Linked DNA regions of Homo sapiens: region 1 is linked to region 2. The links are contacts of gene promoters, found by promoter capture Hi-C in blood cells and fetal thymus (Javierre and others, 2016). All regions are on one chromosome and are shown on one strand. The core of a region is centred on a gene start or on the middle of the fragment in contact, and the rest is flanking DNA. Distances in the headings are between cores, read along the strand shown.

Region 1 (2,896 bases), core at 23-2,522, 3.5 Mb after region 2:
CAGAACCTATATGTAACATGTCTCTCTTCATCTATCGCTCAGGTTTTATTCACGTGTCACCCTCAGTCATTCACTATGGTTCACTGGATAGCTAGGGAAGCACAGAACAAACACTCAGTATTTCACTCAGGTCAGGCTCTGTGCCCTGAGTGTGCCTGTCTTTGCCATGTTCTCCCAGCCAATGTTTTCTCTCCAATTTCTCCAGTTTTCCAGGCTTTCCATTAGACTGAAACTCAGCTCTGCTTCCATCTCTTCCACGTATTGTCTGAAGCTTTCCCTGATGGTTTCACATACACTAATCCCTGTGAACTCTTAAGTTCACCACTTCTTCTCTGGGGGTGGGGATGGAAAGAGAATAGAAACAAATTACTCTCTGGACAAATTCCATGCAAAGATTTTCAGCTGGGTAGACCCTTGATAAGAGGCCTGAAAAACGTTGGTAAAGTCCAAACCTACTTTTGAACCTCAATTGAGCACCTTTCTTTGTGGCCAGGTTTCACCCTCCAGAGTGTTGGTTAATAGGTTGAGGACAAAGACTCCCTGATCAGAATGAGACTCCCCGAAGATCTGTCCTCTTGTTTAGCAGAATCTGGCACATAGTAGGTACTCAGTGTATATATCGACTCAATATCATGCATCTGTTGTGTCCCAGCTACCTTCCACAGGGCTTGATGGGTTGACTTAAATAATGCTTTTAAAATTCAGGTTATTTCAATACAAACAGCCTGGCATCATTAAGGCACAAGAGCCTCACCCTTCTACACCACTTTCCACGAACTTCCAGTTGCCTTCCTTCAAAATCCTTGTTTTCTTAAGAAACCCACAAAAATACCGCCCCTCTATCAAAACGTCCTCAGCTTTGCCAGGTAGAGAATTGCTTCTGCAGTAGCTGGGCCACGTCTCTGTGGTAGTGCCCACTGCATGGGATCGGTATTAATCTGTTTGTCTTTTTCATCTTCTGGGCTGTGAGCTCCTAGAAGTCAGCTTTTTCACTTTTACCCAAGCCAAACGGTTATTCGCGTAAGGTTGGTTATAATTAAAATGTCGGTTTGTGCACATGGTTTGGGACTCTGTGTATGAGTACGACTAATATCTTCAATTTACTAAGAAGATAAAGAGGTCGATAAATAAGGAGGTCAAGCCCGTTTTGCAAGGTCACACAGGAAAGAAGCAGACCACGAAATGAACTTCGGCTGTCACCTGCGGTGGGCGCACTAGAGGTCTTTTGAACTCCTTCGGCTACCGTCGCCGCGTTCTCGCTGTGCACTCTTATTCTGCGCCTGCGCGCGGCTACAGCACGGTTCGTTTTTCCTTTAGTCAGGAAGGACGTTGGTGTTGAGGTGAGTCCGGTCCCTTTTGCATCCCTACCCCGACACTGCGGGTTGTCACAACGGCACCCTCCCGCTTTCTCTCTGCCTCGGATTTAGTCGTGACTGTGTGTCTCCGCCGTGGTGCAGCTTCAGGCCTCTCCCGCATCTACTCTCTCACGCTTCCGCTGCGGCCTGAGGGAGGGCGGCGGGCGGACCACGGACCGGGGTGGGTTGCGACGGCCCCACCGAAGCCGGGTGGGCTGCGGGACCCTCGAGAACCCAGCTGGCTTCGGAGTGAGCTGGCCCGGGGCTGGTACCCGCTGCGCTTTTTCACAGCCATTGTGACCTTGGTGAGGTCATTTGACCTATCTGGCCCCGGTGTTTCTCCCGTGAGAAAAGGGGTGGTGGTTTCTAATGCAGCTGGTCGTGAGGCGCAAGGGTTAGTGTAGGCGAAGCAGCTGGCAGCGTCGCTCGCTGTGTGGCAGCGTTTTAAATTAGAGCTGGAAAACTGGAGGAGGGTCACCGTACCTGCCGCAGGAGGGGAAGGATGGGCTTCCTGCAACCTCCCTTGCCCCACGGCTTCCCATCCTACCCCCGGCCGCGTTAGCTGAAGGCCAGCAGGGACGCAAAAGTTTTTAGGCCCCTTAGGTCTTTAGGTGAGGCTGGGCAAAGGAGCAGTTAGGGAATTTGGGCCCTCATGGTATTTGCCGCGTTCCCGTCCAGGTTTTAATGGTATACCGTGTGACCGTGGAAAACACCTGCCTCATGATCTGACAGGGTTGTCGCGAAGGTTTAACGAGTGGACAGAAAATTTTTAGAAGAGAAAGTGTTGCATAAATGGGTTTGCAATCGTTAATTACCAATGCGGAGCTACTGCTTATTTTTCTTGTTGTTGGAAAGATTTTTGTTGCCTTTGCTCGTCCATTACTAGTGTGCCGCAGTTTGTCGCGTTTATTTAGGGTGGTCGCTCAGTATATGGGGGGCGGGGGGAAGATGAAACAGGCTAAGCCAAGAGACAGCTTAGGCTTTGTGGGAGGAATCCATCCACTGTCGTGCTGTGCCTCTCTAGGTAGTAAAATGTACTATGCATGAGAATTCCTTTTGATATCTTTTCTGAGTTTTTCTTTTATTATTTTACCCGAGAAAGGGAAAAAAAGCTCAGAGTAGTGAGAGCTACATGAGGTATGCAGGACGCAGAGACCTGAGTATTGGACTTCAGTGCCGCCCCTCACCCATGTCTCAACCCAAATCTTATTCCTGAATTTGTGATATAAAGGACAGCGTTTAGTCAGTCAATAGCTTATGTTATTTTAATGTAAATTTTTGATAAACAGTTTAGGAATTGCCTCTCATTTTTTCTTAACTCACTTGTAGGCCGGAATCCCAGCACTTTGGGAGGACGAGGTAGGATGATCACTTGAGGGCAGGAGTTTAAGACCAGCCTGGGGAGCATAGCTAGACCCTGTTTCTGCCAAAAAAGAAAAACATTCATTTGTAACTGCTGCTAATCGGAGTGTATATTCAGGGCAGCTCCAATCAATGCTTCCAGGTGGCCATTCTCAAGTTTGTGGCTTAAATAAACTCTG
Region 2 (2,716 bases), core at 17-2,516:
AAATCTAATTTATATTTTAGAAACATTACTGCCTTGTGACAAACTGTAAACATCTTTTGAGCAGAGACTTATTAGCAATGCTCACACACATGTTGATAATATCTCCTACTCAACCAAAATAGTGAAATACTGTTTTCGCCTCATCTCATCTCGCTTACTCCTCATTCAAACTAATGACACAGCCCTTCTTTCTATGCCTTAGGTTCATTCCTGCCTGAAGACCTTTGCTCCTGTTATTCTCTTTATTTAGAACAATCTGCTTACGCATGGTTGGTCCCTTGTCATTTAGGTATCACAAAGTACAATTTATAAGTGGTTAGCATGTTAACGGGGGAACAGACCAGGAAGGATAAATTAATTTCATTTAACCATTCTTTCATCAAACTTCTTAAGGGATGGTAAGAGAAAACTGATGCTTTTAAATTCATCTTTGTCTCTTCCAACATCCACAACTAATGTGAAGTAGTAAAGCGGCAAGAAGAGCAGTAGGAAGGTTTTAAAAGCCTGTTTAACTCTCAGCCCTTCAACCCACGAGTTTGGCTCATTCAAGTCCACTTTTCAGTAATAGGAACCTGAAGACAATCCCAGAGCAGCAGCTGGAATTTTTCTCCACTATAGACAACTGTTTCCCACTCACCACTAGAGGAAATTCTTAGAAAAAGGACTTGAACAGACTTTACTTGCTATCCATCCAGTTCCGCAGCGACTCCGTAAGCACAAAGTTTGCCTTAGCGAAAGGTAACTGAGAAAGAACCAGACCAGAGTGCCAGCCTCCCCCGGCTTTACTCCGCGAAAGCCGAGGCTAGACCCAACGACTTGCGGAAACCGTCCCTTTCTCCCTACCAACTTATCTTACCTCTCTGTAAGTCCAACTTGGTTTCGCGGACATAATTGTCCGGATTCCGGCTCAGCATCTTCACCTTCATCTCGGTTGCTCTTCCGGCCGGACTCCACGAGGTGTCCGCTAGGAGTTCCGCCCACCGCCACCTCCTCCCACAGGCGACTTCCGCTTTTCCCAGACTACTTCCAGTCACGTGACTCGCGGAGCGGCGGCCTGCTGGCTCAACTGGATCCTGCGCCGCTCCGTAGTTTTGCCGGCAAACGTTAGCAAGGGGCGGTTCTTTAGCTGTGCAGTCGCTTCCGCGTCCGTGGGCTGGAGCATTTGTGGGCGAGGCAGGGCGGAGACTCGGGAGAGGCTGGGACCTCCCCTCCATCGCGCTTTCCGCCGGCGTGACGTAGTGTCTGTGCCCCGTTCTTGCCCCCTCAGTACTAGAGTCTCCGGCTTCGCTCACGCGCCTTGGGCATAAGAGTCCTCTCGTTGGTCCCGGAGGTGGGGTTGCGCTCACAAGGGGCGACCGTCGCCACGGTGGCGGCCACTGCATCGCGTCCCACCTCCGCGGCCCTGGGCGCCGTGGTGTCGACGGGCCCCGAGCCTATGACGGGCCAGGGCCAGTCGGCGTCCGGGTCGTCGGCGTGGAGCACGGTATTCCGCCACGTCCGGTATGAGAACCTGATAGCGGGCGTGAGCGGCGGCGTCTTATCCAACCTTGCGCTGCATCCGCTCGACCTCGTGAAGATCCGCTTCGCCGGTAAGAGCCCGCCCAGACACCGGGCTGCATCCTCTCACTGTCAGCCCGAACTGGATCTCCTCCGTCTTTTCCGTTCTAGGGGGAGGAGGAGCGTTGAAGGGAGCGTTGCTGTCCGCGTTGGCTAACCTGAACTAGATTTGAGGAAATGGTGCTTGGTGGAGGGGTCGGCCTGCGATCTTCCCCGCTCCTCAAGACTAAGAGAGGGGGCATGTATGTAGAGAAGTCTGAGAAAAAACATCCTCATTGGCAGAGAAGATGGGATTCAAAGCCTGATTTGTAAAATAAAGAAGGGATTGTCACATTTTAAGGTTTAGTCCTCACACGTGCAAATCATTCACTCTTGGAGGAACTTTGAAATCTTAGCATACCCACGTGGTTTGGCAGCTCGACTAGTATTGGGATAGGGCGTAATCTTCAGCGAATGGTTGGGAGTAGATTTAGAATAGAATTCTCTTGAATGTTTGTTTTTTGGCATTTGTAGAATGGTACAAGTTTCTGTGAAAAAATAGCTAGAATCGAAATACTATTTTAAGTGTATTAGATGAATTGAGTATGTTGAAATTAACAAAGCATTTTAGAAGTTAAACTCAACACTAAAGTCTGGAAAGAGTTTCAAAGATGATCTTTGATAACTGAAATTGCAGAAAATAGTTTCCAAATAAAGTTATTACAAGTTAAGTTCAGCCTTGAGAATTAAATCTACAGAAGTTGTTTATTTTAGCATTAGGCAATTCAGTTCACTTGATTTATATTCTCTTAATATTTGTAGACTGCTGTATGGGCTACAGAAGTATCTAATAAAGTTCTTGCCTTCAGGGAACTTAGAATTTAATTGTAGGCGTTAGACTTAGTCATATAAAAGGTAATTCTAGACAACATAAAATCAAGAAATACAAAAACAAAATATAAATACAGGTAAACCGTTAAGAAAATTCTACATTACTGATGGCCATGTGTATCTTTAAGGTTCAGTGGAAGATTGGGGCTTGGGGTTTCCCATAGAAGGGCTAATATTTTGACAGCTGGAGAGGAAGCAAGAACCCGTTCTATGAAGGAAAATCATCGAAAATTATGGAGTATTATCTCTAGAAAAAACACCACAAAGACATATAATGTCATGAAGTTTT

What was found. Contacts are between HindIII fragments. The CHiCAGO score rates a contact against its expected background, and 5 or more counts as called.
Region 1: a contact is called between the fragment with the promoter of COX6C here and the fragment with the promoter of SLC25A32 in region 2, in 2 of 17 cell types (total B cells and monocytes). The highest score is 6.7, in total B cells.

The regions. Positions count from the first base shown.
Region 1 is chr8:99,892,083-99,894,978 of GRCh38, reverse strand. It overlaps COX6C (cytochrome c oxidase subunit 6C), which reads left to right and starts at 1,272. Exons shown (of 4, transcript NM_004374.4): 1 at 1,272-1,340. RefSeq lists a silencer at 1,491-1,660 and enhancers at 1,134-1,781, 1,782-2,430. The HindIII fragment of the contact is 2,962 bases long and covers 274-2,896 here.
Region 2 is chr8:103,413,657-103,416,372 of GRCh38, reverse strand. It overlaps SLC25A32 (solute carrier family 25 member 32), which reads left to right and starts at 1,266. Exons shown (of 7, transcript NM_030780.5): 1 at 1,266-1,589. The coding sequence starts at 1,436. It overlaps DCAF13 (DDB1 and CUL4 associated factor 13), which reads right to left and starts at 987. Exons shown (of 11, transcript NM_015420.7): 1 at 857-987. The coding sequence starts at 926. RefSeq lists enhancers at 906-1,245, 979-1,600. The HindIII fragment of the contact is 9,226 bases long and covers 1-2,716 here.